Regions from separate parts of the Homo sapiens genome. Here region 1 is linked to region 2. Evidence: promoter capture Hi-C in 16 types of primary human blood cells and fetal thymus (Javierre and others, 2016). All regions are on one chromosome and are shown on one strand. Each heading gives the region's core, a stretch centred on a gene start or on the middle of the fragment in contact. The rest is flanking DNA. Distances are from core to core; before and after follow the strand shown. Region 1 overlaps NEMF (nuclear export mediator factor). Region 2 holds the start of VCPKMT (valosin containing protein lysine methyltransferase).

Region 1 (6,168 bases), core at 3,257-5,756, 270 kb after region 2:
AATTTAGTTTCTTTAAATGTAAAATGTGGATAGTACCTCCTTCATGAAATTATTGGATTAATTGAAATGATATATAAAACACCTAAAACAGACCAGGTGCGGTGGCTCATGCCTGTAATTCCAACACTTTGGGAGGCTGAGGCAGGTGGATCACTTGAGGTCAGAAGTTCAAGGCCAGCCCAGCCAACATGGTGAAACCCTGTCTCTACTAGCCAGGCGTGGTGGCACACACCTGTAATTCCAGCTACTTGGGAGGATGGGGCAGGAGAACCACTTGAACCTGGGAGATAGAGATTGCAGTCAGCTGAGTTCGCACTGTTTCACTCCAGCCTGGGCGACAGAGCGAGACTCCATCTAAAAAAAAAAGAAAGGCACCTGAAACAATACCTGACACATATTAGAACTCCATACATGTTCATTTCCTTCCTGCTCCGCTCCTTACTTTGGCAATGTATCTGTTATGGCATTGAGTTATTTCATTAGAGGCTTTACAGAGAAGAGCTTTACCCCCCAGCAATTTAGAGTCTGTTTTGGATTACAAATTAGGTAAGTGTTTCCATATCACAAGGGCTTTCACAAAATTCTCAGATTATTAAAGTTTAATTTATTTAATAGTAACCCAAAATAGTTCTTTTGGGGCCTGTCCTTAATAATAATGACAATAATAATGCTACCTGTTGTGTAGCACTTTTTAAGGCAGATGAATAATATGTATTTCATTTAAGTTGTTTAGCAACTCAGTGGACTGTGAAGAACAAATACAATTTCAGTTTTATGGATGAGGTAACAGGCCAATGAAATAGGACACTGGGATTGTGTAAACATCTCCAAATCAGACTACACTAATAGGTCAGTCACTTTAAAAAATACTTAGAATTCTATGGGTTAGGTGTACGTGTCAATCTAAATGTATAGAAAGATTTCCTCAATGGAGCAGACAATGTTAAGCACTTTATAAATCAAAGAGCTGTTACTGTTGCATGGCACAGGCAGAGTTATGTCTATTATGTGATAAATCACAGTGGTTGTTCCAGTATTCACATTTGGGGATGACAGCTATAGCTTTGTGGCACACAGCAGCAGGTTGATTTCACCAAGCTGTTGATAGGGAAATGAAACAAGCTTTAAATATGTACTATGTGTCCATCTGTACTCTCCATGATAAATAATCCCCTTTTTACTATTCCTTTGTGTGAACTTCTGTCCTTTCAATGATGCCTTTTGTCTTTATTTTTCTTGAATAAAATTATTACTCAGGGACTCTGGAAGAACTGATTGTGATTTTCCTCTAGGGATTTAAAGATAGCCCTACATGTAGGTTACTGTTTAATCAAATCAGTATAGGTCATTCTTAAAACTACTGAGTTAAGGAGGAGCAGATTGTTTATCCTAGGAAGTTATTCTGCCTATGTGAGTATATAAAATGCGAATTTCAGTCAATTTGGGCTATAAGGTCTGGAGAAGAACTCTTCTTAGTTATGAAAATGTTAGCATTAATTTTAATAATGAATTTATGTGTTTATTGTTGTTTTTTTTCAACCTTTGTCAAGGAGTGGATTTTTTGTCTTTTTTTTGAAGGTGGTCTTAGATTAACTTCTGTAAAATTTGTTTCGTATTTAAGTCTTTTTTTTTTTTTTTTTTTTTGAGACGGAGTCTTGCTCTGTCACCAGGCTGGAGGGCAGTGGCGCAGTCTTGGCTCACTGCAACTTCAGTCTCCTGGGTTCAAGTGATTCTCGTGTCTCAGCCTCCCAAGTAGCTGGGATTACAGGCACACGCCACCATGCCTGGCTAATTTTTGTATTTTTAGTAGAGATGGGGTTTCACCATGTTGGCCAGGCTGGTCTTGAACTCCTGACGTTGTGATCCGCCTGCCTCGGCCTCCCAGAGTGCTGGGATTACAGGCGTGAGCTGCCATACCCAGACCGTATTTGAGTCTTGAAGAAAGCATTCTTTCTTATTGGTCTTAACTAAAGGGTCTTTTATATTAAAAAATTAGAAACAATTGTAAGATATTTTAGAGGCTACAGAGTAGTCTTGTTACCAGTCCATGTCATACTTCAATATTTGTACAAAAAGACGGTACATGTAATCTAAAAGAGTAGGTATTGCCAAGTAAATTGTATTTGGATTTGATATACTAATATTATTTTAATTGTTAATAAGAAAAAGAACCTTATGGCCAGGGATAGGAGGAAGGGGATTTAATAAAGAATGAGAGTTATTACATTGGATTGAAATAGGTTATCAAAAGCTTAGAGACGATACCAGGAAAATTCTCTTTGGGTTATATTAGTAAAGTTTGTAGGAATAAGCTGGGCACAGTGGCAGGGCACTTGTAATCCTAGCTACTTGGGAGGCTAAGGTGGGAGATTGCTTGAGTCCAGGAGTTTGAGCCTTGCCTGGGCAACAGAGAGACTCTGTCCCTTTCTTTTTTTTTTTTTTTTTTGAGACAGAGTCTTGCTCTGTTGCCCAGGCTGGATTGCAGTAGTGTCATCTCGGCTCACTGTAACCTCCGCCTCTTGGGTTCAAGCGATTCTTTTGCCTCAGCCTCCTGAGTAGCTGGGATTACAGGCATGCGCCAGCACGCCCAGCTAATTTTTGTATTTTTAGTAGAGATGGGGTTTCACCATATTGGCCAGGCTGGTCTTGAACTCCTGACCTCAAGTGATCCACCTACCTCGGCCTCCCAAAGTGTTGGGATTACAGGCCTGAGCCACCGCTCCTGGCAAAGACTCTCTTAAAGAAAAAAAAAAAAAAAAAAAAAAAAAAAAGAATTGGTAGGGGTAACTGGATATAAGGTGGTGGACTATTTACAGGATACCATAAGCCATAAGCTCATGGTCCATAGTTGATATGTATTAGAAGTAGAAGATTAGTGGAAACAATTAATTAATTTTGAACATAAATGAAGCATACAAAAGGGAAATTTGGCATACTTAGAAGTGTCATCAAAGAGACTTAAAAAAAATAAAGGGACTGGGTGTGGTGGCTCACGCCTGTAATCCTAACACTTTGGGAGGCCGAGGTGGGCAGATTGCCTGAGCTCAGGAGTTCGAGACCAGCCTGGGCAACGTGGAGAAACCCCGTCTCTACTAAAATACAAAAAATTAGCCAGGCGTGGTAGTGGGCGCCTGTAGTCCCAGCTACTCTTGGGAGGGTGAGGCAGGAGGATTGCTTGAACCTGGGAGGCAGAAGTTGCAGTGAGCCAAGATTGTGCTACTGTACTCCAGCCTGGGTGACAAAGTGAGACTCCGTCTCCAAATAAATAAATAAATAAATAAATAAGTAAAGGTTGGCTGGGCACAGTGGCTCATGCCTGTAATCCCAGCACTTTGGGAGGCTGAGGTGGGCGGATCACGAGGTCAGAACTTCGAGACCAGCCTGACCAACATGGTGAAACCCCGTCTCTACTAAAAATAGAAAAATTAGCCGGGTGTGGTGGCACACGCCTGTAATTTCAGCTACTCAGGAGGCTGAGGCAGGAGAATCACTTGAACCTGGGAGGCGGAGGTTGCAGTGAGCTGAGACTGTGCCACTGCATTCCAGTCTGGGCGACAGAGCGAGACTCTCTCTCAAAATAAAGTAAATAAATAAAGGTTGTGGCTTATGAGTGAGGTCATTAGGACCACAACAAGGAATTTAGCAGTGGTATAAAGCAACAAAGCAAATTTTGCTATAGGTCCATCATTCTCTACTTAAAAATTGAAAATAAAAGCCTGGCTCAGTAGCTTACGCTTGTAATCCCAGCACTTTGGGAGGCCAAGGCAGGAGGATTGCTTGTGCCCAGGAGTTTGAGATTAGCCTGGGCAACATAGTGAGACCCTGTCTCTACAAATAATGAAAAAATTAGCTGGGGATAGTGGCATGTGCCTGTGGTCCCAATCCTCAGGAGGCTGATGCAGGAGGATCACCTGAGCCAGGGAAGTCGAGGCTGCAGCGAGCCATGATCACACCACTGGGCTCCAGTTTGGGTGACAGAGTGAGACCCTGTCTTAAAAAAATGCAAATAAAACACTGTTTCAGAGTTAGTGTTTATAATAAAATGTTTTCCCTCTGATTATCATCTGCAATCTATTACTTTATGACTATACTGTTATTCACAACGTTTTAAATATTCCTGATGATAATGAAAAGAAGCTTATTTATAAACCAATACCAAATGGTTAGGAATTCACTTTTACTAAATGAATGCCTTTTTCTTTCTCTTGCTAGTGCCGAAAACATTTGAAGAGTCGGAGATTAGTCAGTGCAAAACAGCTTGGTGTGGATAGAATTGTAGATTTTCAATTTGGAAGTGATGAAGCTGCTTACCATTTAATCATTGAGCTCTATGATAGGGTAAGTTAAATTTGTGGGATATGGTGAAGGAAAATTTCTTATTAATCATTTTGTAATAGTGCTATATAACATGAGTGGGGGAACATTTTTTTTCTGTGTCAAAGGTTGTTACTACCCTAGGAAATGGGTGCCACACAAATAAAATAAAATTTTCCAGTAATAACCTTCATTTTATCTGTAGGTCTGAGTTTAGGCAGACTTTAGCCATTTAGAATAGCCTTATGAATGTAGGAGATGAAGATCTGAGAAGTAAATTATTTGGTACTTGACATTTCAGGACTAATATGCAACCAGAAAATAGTCAAATACGGTCATGCACTGATGCGCTGTATGTATAGTGATGTTTCAGTCAACAACAGACTGCATATAAACGTTGGTCCTGTAACATTGTAATGGATCTAATAAATTCTTACTGCTTAGTGACATCTTGATCCTGACTCTGTGTAGGCCTAGGCTGGTGTGTGAGTTTGTGTGTTAGTTTTTAACAAAAACATTAAAAGTAAAAACAAAACAATTTAAAATGGAAAAAAAGCTTAGAGAATATGGATCTAAAGAAAGAAAGTATTGTACAGCTGTACGATATGTGTTTTAAGCTAAGTGTTATTACAAGAGTCAAAAAGCTAAAAAGTTTAAAGTTTATAAAGTAAAAAAGTTCCAGGAAGCAAAGGTTAATTTATTATTGAAGAAAGAAAAACATCTTAAAAATAAATTTGGCTGAGCGCAATGACTCAGGCCGGGCACAGTGGCTCACACCTGTAATCCTAGCATTTTGGGAGGCCGAGGAGGGCGGATCACCTGGGGTCAGATCACCTGGGGTCAGGAGTTCAAGACCAGCCTGGCCAACATGGCAAAACCCCGTCTCTATTAAAAAATACAAAAATTAGCTGGGCGTGGTGGCGGGCACCTATAATCCCAGCTACTCGGGAGGCTGAGGCAGGAGAATCACTTGAACCTGGGAGGCAGAGGTTCCAGTGAGCTCAGATTGTGTCACTGTGCTCCAGCCTGGGCAACGGAGCAAGACTTTGTCTCAAAAATAAACTAACTAACTAACTAACTAACTAACTTAATCTGGGCCAGGTGTGGTGGCTCACACCTGTAATCCCAGCACTTTGGGAGGCCAAGGCGAGTGGATCACCTGAGGTCAGGAGTTTGAGACCAGCCTGCCCAATGTGGCAAAACTGCATCTCTACTAAAAATACAAAAATTAGCCTGGTGTGGTGGTGCGTGCCTGTAGTCCCAGCTACTCGGGAGGCTGAGGCAGGAGAATCACTTGAACCTGGGAGGCAGTGGTTGCAGTGAGCTGAGATCATGCCATTGTACTCCAGCTCAGGTGACAGAGTGAGATTCAGTCTCAAAAAGGAAAAAAAAAATATATGTGTGTGTGTGTGTGTGTGTGTGTGTGCGCGCGCGTGCGCGTGCGTGTGTATGTATATAAATAAATAAATACATAAATTTAATCTGGTCTGAGGTAAGCATAATTTTTTTAAAAATTAAAAAATAAAAAACAAATTTAGTGTAGCCCAAGTGTGCAGTATTTATCAAGTCTACAGTAGTATGCAGTAATGTCCCAGGCCTTCACATTTACTCACTGTCACTCACCCAGAGCAGTTTTCAGTCCTGCATGCTCCATTCATGGTAAGTGCCCTATACAGGTGTTCCATTTTTAATCTTTTATACCAGGGATCTTCAACCCCTGTGCCGCAGACTGGAACTGGTCTGTGGAACCAGGCCACACGGCAGGAGGTGAGCAGTATGCGAGTGAGCATTACTCACCTGAGCTCTGCCTCCTGTCAGATCAGTGGTGGCATTAGATTCTTATAGGAGCGTGAA
Region 2 (5,287 bases), core at 1,283-3,782:
TTTCTGAAATGTATACACAAAGCAAGATAAAGAGTTAGGACCTAAGACTTAAATTAAAACATCTCATATATAAAAATATTAAACCCAGCCCTGAATTAATCTAGGAGTACTCATAATCTGATAATTAACCCAGATTAGTTTATTTTGAGCCTCTGAATTTAACTTGACAAGTAAGAATTTTTCAGACTTAAAAATTTTTTTTTTTAATTTTTCAGAATAGAGGTATAATTTAATTACTTTTTTTTTTGAGGGAAATATGAAATCTGATGATGATCCTCCTGCTATTCCACCGAGACAGCCTCCTCCTCCAAAGGTAAAACCCAGAGTTCCTGTTCCTACTGGTGCATTTGATGGGCCTCTGCATAGTCCACCTCCGCCACCACCAAGAGATCCTCTTCCTGATACCCCTCCACCAGTTCCCCTTCGGCCTCCAGAACACTTTATAAACTGTCCATTTAATCTTCAGCCACCTCCACTGGGGCATCTTCACAGAGATTCAGACTGGCTCAGAGACATTAGTACGTGTCCAAATTCGCCAAGCACTCCTCCTAGCACACCCTCTCCAAGGGTACCGCGTCGATGCTATGTGCTCAGTTCTAGTCAGAATAATCTTGCTCATCCTCCAGCTCCCCCTGTTCCACCAAGGCAGAATTCAAGCCCTCATCTGCCAAAACTGCCACCAAAGACTTACAAACGGGAGCTTTCGCACCCCCCATTGTACAGACTGCCTTTGCTAGAAAATGCAGAAACTCCCCAATGACCTTAGCCATATGTAGTCATTGACACTGGAATGGTATTTGTAAAGTTTTTTTTTTAATTTATTCAAAAAAAGACATAGTATTTTAGTACTTTTTACAAATAATGCTCTTACAAAAATGCTACTGATCAAATAAGCTTTTAAGAATTGGAAAAATAAAAATACAAAAGTCCTTCACCATTATCCTCAGGTGATCAGTAGCATTGCCTTGTCTTGGATCCTCAGTGCTGCCAAAAGGCCAGTATAAAGAATTTATATTTGCACTGTAAACTCTGCAAAAATATGGTTTAAAGTGACATGATTGCACTGAAAAGGGATAGTGCTTTTGTGAAATTTTTCAAATTTGAGTAATAGATGCCTTTTTAAGGCAGTGAATTTACACAAATATGGGAGGGGTATATGGTGTTACTGATTTTTAAACCTCTTTGACCATCTTCTAGTTTTTACTTCTAGTTTTTACATCTAGGAGAATTGTGAATAACACCAACTGTTCTTAAACTCTTTAATGCCATGTCTTAAATGCCGGTATTTGCTGCTGAAGACAAAAATGAAAAGTAGGATGAAAATAATAGAATGGCACTGTAAGTGTTTATTATTTTGTCAAAATGTAAACAAAGACTACATAACCCAATGATGGAGGGAAAAAGGGCATGTATCTCATTCAGATGTGCCTTTTGTTTTTGCAGACTATGACGTCTTTAGCTAATGAATTGCCTATTGTTATGGAAAACAGTTAATATGCCATGTATGTACAGTTTTGTTTATATTGTATATTTAAAGATACTGCTAATAACCTATATAAATTTAAGTGACTTGAGGCCTATAATACAATCTGCTACTTTACTAATTCATAAATTCAAAAAAAATTCTATGGCATAGGAACCAACTGCCTTGCCTTCAAGACCTAGTAACTTTCTCTATAAATCTCGTGTTAACTGAAATTTTTTTTAAATATATTTTTTAGATTGGTAATATTTAAACCAGCAAATACTTAAAGCTTTATTAAACATTTTAATCAGATAAGTGAGTAAAGCTTTTATTTGCCATTTGGATGCCTTCGTTCAAAGTGATAGAGTGTTTTGCTGATAGTGCTGTAGCAGCAGTTGTAAAGTAGCCAAAAGCCACGTTGTTTATTTACTGGTTTGTGGCCTTTTACTGTGCTTTGTATCAGAGTTCTTAACAAGATTAATAAATCACCCCAGTCTTAATTTTTAAAAGACTTTTAAAATATGTGTTTTCATTATAAGGAACAAAGGGGGAGATTGTTGAGTCCTATAGACACACACACACACACACACAATTTTTTCTTCACTGTTAAATGTGAGCTGCAGGCTTCTAGCAACCACTTTTATGAATTCATACAAAAAACTAGGAGCATACTAGGAACTTGAAAAGGAAGATTGTAAGATTATAGCCATCTTTGGTAGGATCTTGGAAGCTGATTGCATTTAAGCCTTGTAACTACTATGTAAATCAAGTGTCCAACTTGGTAAACTCTGAGGTTGGCTTTGTTTTTTAAAGAGCAGATTATAATAGTTTTGTCTGGGAAAGTGATTTAAACGGCCTCTTCGTTAAGCCAAACGTGTGATTTAGGGTAGAGGGAGGCTGCCAAGCGCGTCGGGTAAGCAGGGGCCCCACGCTCGGCCCCGCCCAGGTAACGCTGCCTTCCGGGCTTTGTTAACTCGCGCGCGCTGCGTCGCCAACTCAGCGGCGGGCAGGGGGCGGAGCCGCAGGGCGGGGCGGTGCGCGTTGATGTGACGTCCCTGCGCGCGCCGCTTTCTGTTGCCGGGCGCAATGGCGGATACGCTGGAGTCCTCGCTGGAGGACCCACTGCGGAGCTTTGTGCGAGTTTTGGAGAAGCGGGATGGTACAGTGCTACGACTACAGCAGTATAGCTCCGGTGGCGTGGGTTGCGTTGTGTGGGACGCTGCCATTGTCCTTTCTAAATACCTGGAAACGCCCGAGTTTTCTGGCGACGGGGCCCACGCGCTGAGCCGGCGGTCGGTGCTGGAGCTGGGTTCGGGCACCGGGGCCGTGGGGCTCATGGCTGCTACCCTCGGGTAAGAGCTGGCGGGCGGGCGGGATGTGGGGGCGCCTTCTTGCTGGGGAAATCCGGATTACAGGCTTTCCCCCCTGTGCCTACACCTCAGTCGACGTTATTTTATAGGGCTGATGTTGTAGTCACCGATCTTGAGGAATTGCAAGACTTGCTGAAGATGAATATTAATATGAACAAGCATCTTGTCACTGGTTCTGTTCAAGCCAAGGTACTGAAATGGTTTGTATGGCCTTTCAGCTTGTTTTAAGATATTGATTTGTAGTTTGTTTTGAATTGCGTTTCATTAAAAGGATGGAAGGGGACTTTCCGGTTCTTTATAAAACAAGAGTATTTTGAATTATTAAAACAATTGAAATATTTGTTTGGCATTTTTAAGGGGGGAAGAAATAGAAGGCTTTCCTTCTCCACCCGACTTCATACTGATGGCCGACTGCATATACTATGAAGAGGTAAGTATCCAGTGAGCGAAGTCTCTTCACTTAGAAGATGAACCTTATTCCATGAATTCTAAAGCACACGTTTCTTCACATTTTAACATCTTTGAATCCGGGATTTGCCTTATAGTTGATGCAGTAAAGAGAAGATAAAAGTCACCAGGGACCATATGTATATACGCTCATCATTATCATACCGACCTGGTGAAGCATGTTGAGAAAAGTGTTATATGCATTTTACTAGAGGCTTCTGTAAAAATTTTAAAGGATTTTGCCAATTGGATGTTATGAAAAGCCAAAATCCTCTCTTTTTCCCTTGGTTGTTCCCACGGAACATGTTAACCATGACATTGAGAATTAAGTTATAAATAATTCATTGTTCTTTTCTTTAAATACCAGTTTGGGCCGGGCGCGGTGGCTCACGCCTGTAATCCCAACACTTGGGAGGTCAAGGCAGGTGGCTCACCTGAGGTCGGGAGTTCGAGACCAGCCTGACCTACATGGCAAAACCCTGTCTCTACTAAAAATACAAAATTAGCCAGGCGTGGTGGTGCATGTCTGTAATCCTAGCTATTTGGGAGTCTGAGGCAGGAGAATCGCTTGAACCTGGGAGGCGGAGGTTGCAGTGAGCCGAAATCATGCCATTGCATTCCAGCCTGGGCAACAAGAGCAAAACTCTGTCTCAAAAAAAAAAAAAAAAAAAAAAAACATCAGTTTGTATAGTGTTGTGGGCATCGATTATTTTAAAAATAATTAGCATTGAACCAAGTTAGGGTCAGATTTAACTTTTGTAGGGAAATCGTTGATTATTTAAATCCCAAATTAGATTAAATAAAATTAAACTTTTAAGAGTAAGGTTGATTCCATTTGTTTCCCATGAGAACTCCAAAATGCAGTCATCTGAATCCTTTTTCTGGAAACCAAAATCAGTACATGGTTTAGTTAACAGGAGCTTACCCAATCATTAGTTACAGAGGGGTTTTTGTTTGTTTGTTTTTGTTTTAAGATAGGGGTCTTGCTCTGTCACACATGTTGTAGTGCAGTGGAGTGATCATAGCTCACTGTAACCTCGAGCTCCTGAGGCTCAAGTAATCCTCCCATTCAGCCTCCTCAATAGCTGGGACTATAGGTGTGCACCAGCATGCTGGCTAATTTTTAAATTTTTTGTAAGGTGTTGCGGGGGGTGGTTTGTCTCTCGCTGTATTCTCCAGGCTGGTCTTCAACTCCTGCTTTCAAGCGATCTTTCCACCTCTGCCTTCCAAAGTGTTGATATTACAGGTGTGAGCCACTGCACCTAGCCTAGAGCTTTAATTACATGTGCTTTGTTGGATTGATTCAAAGATGGATAAATTGTAGGGGAGCTATAAATACCCCTGTACCTCCTCAACCTACTTTTAGAGTAGAAAAATTTTTAAATCAAAAACAAAAAATATATTCTTTTTTAAATAGTCTTTGGAGCCATTGCTGAAAACTCTAAAAGATATCAGCGGATTTGAAACTTGTATTATATGTTGTTATGAACAACGAACAATGGGGAAAAATCCAGAAATTGAGAAAAAATATTTTGAGGTAAGTATTAAGTACTCTATTATCTTTGTAGTGATTTCCCTTCAGGGGGGCTGTATGTGACTCTTCAAGTATATTATGGTAATTTTGGGTGGGGAAAACATGCTGTTTGTGTGAAGCTGAGGAAAGGATCTTCACAGCCCATGATTCTACGAAGCTCCCCTTTTTCATCTTTTCTGATACTTTATTTCATTTCTAATTAGTTGATCTATGGCTACAGAAGAATGTTAATACGGGTGCCACTCCTTTTTAAGAACAGTTTTCAGTGTTTATTAAACATGATGCTGCCTTTGGGGAACATCTCAATGATGTATGTATTACCTTTGGAGAATACGTGATAGAAATGTGCAGGTGATAAGTTGTTTTTGTTTTGAGACAGGGTTTCACCCTGTAGCCCATGCCGGAGTGCAGTGGCACAGTCAGGGCTCACTGCATCCTCAACCTCCTGGGCTCAAGTGATCCTCCTGCCTC

Evidence for each region. The method cuts DNA at HindIII sites, captures the fragments that hold promoters and counts their contacts. A CHiCAGO score of 5 or more calls a contact.
Region 1: a fragment that was not itself captured here is called in contact with the fragment with the promoter of VCPKMT in region 2 in 16 of 17 cell types (naive CD4 T cells, naive CD8 T cells, non-activated CD4 T cells and 13 more); the score reaches 27.0 in naive CD4 T cells.

Annotation. Positions count from the first base shown.
Region 1 is chr14:49,844,310-49,850,477 of GRCh38, reverse strand. It overlaps NEMF (nuclear export mediator factor), which reads left to right. Exons shown (of 33, transcript NM_004713.6): 4 at 4,213-4,338. Among named protein-coding and RNA genes, the nearest start is that of NEMF, 5.4 kb to the left of the region's middle. The HindIII fragment of the contact is 733 bases long and covers 4,140-4,872 here.
Region 2 is chr14:50,113,817-50,119,103 of GRCh38, reverse strand. It overlaps VCPKMT (valosin containing protein lysine methyltransferase), which reads left to right and starts at 2,532. Exons shown (of 6, transcript NM_024558.3): 1 at 2,532-2,817; 2 at 2,925-3,035; 3 at 3,193-3,265; 4 at 4,700-4,819. The coding sequence starts at 2,552. SOS2 (SOS Ras/Rho guanine nucleotide exchange factor 2) reads left to right here. Exons shown (of 23, transcript NM_006939.4): 23 at 251-1,974. The coding sequence ends at 760. RefSeq lists an enhancer at 2,536-2,595. The HindIII fragment of the contact is 15,614 bases long and covers 1,793-5,287 here.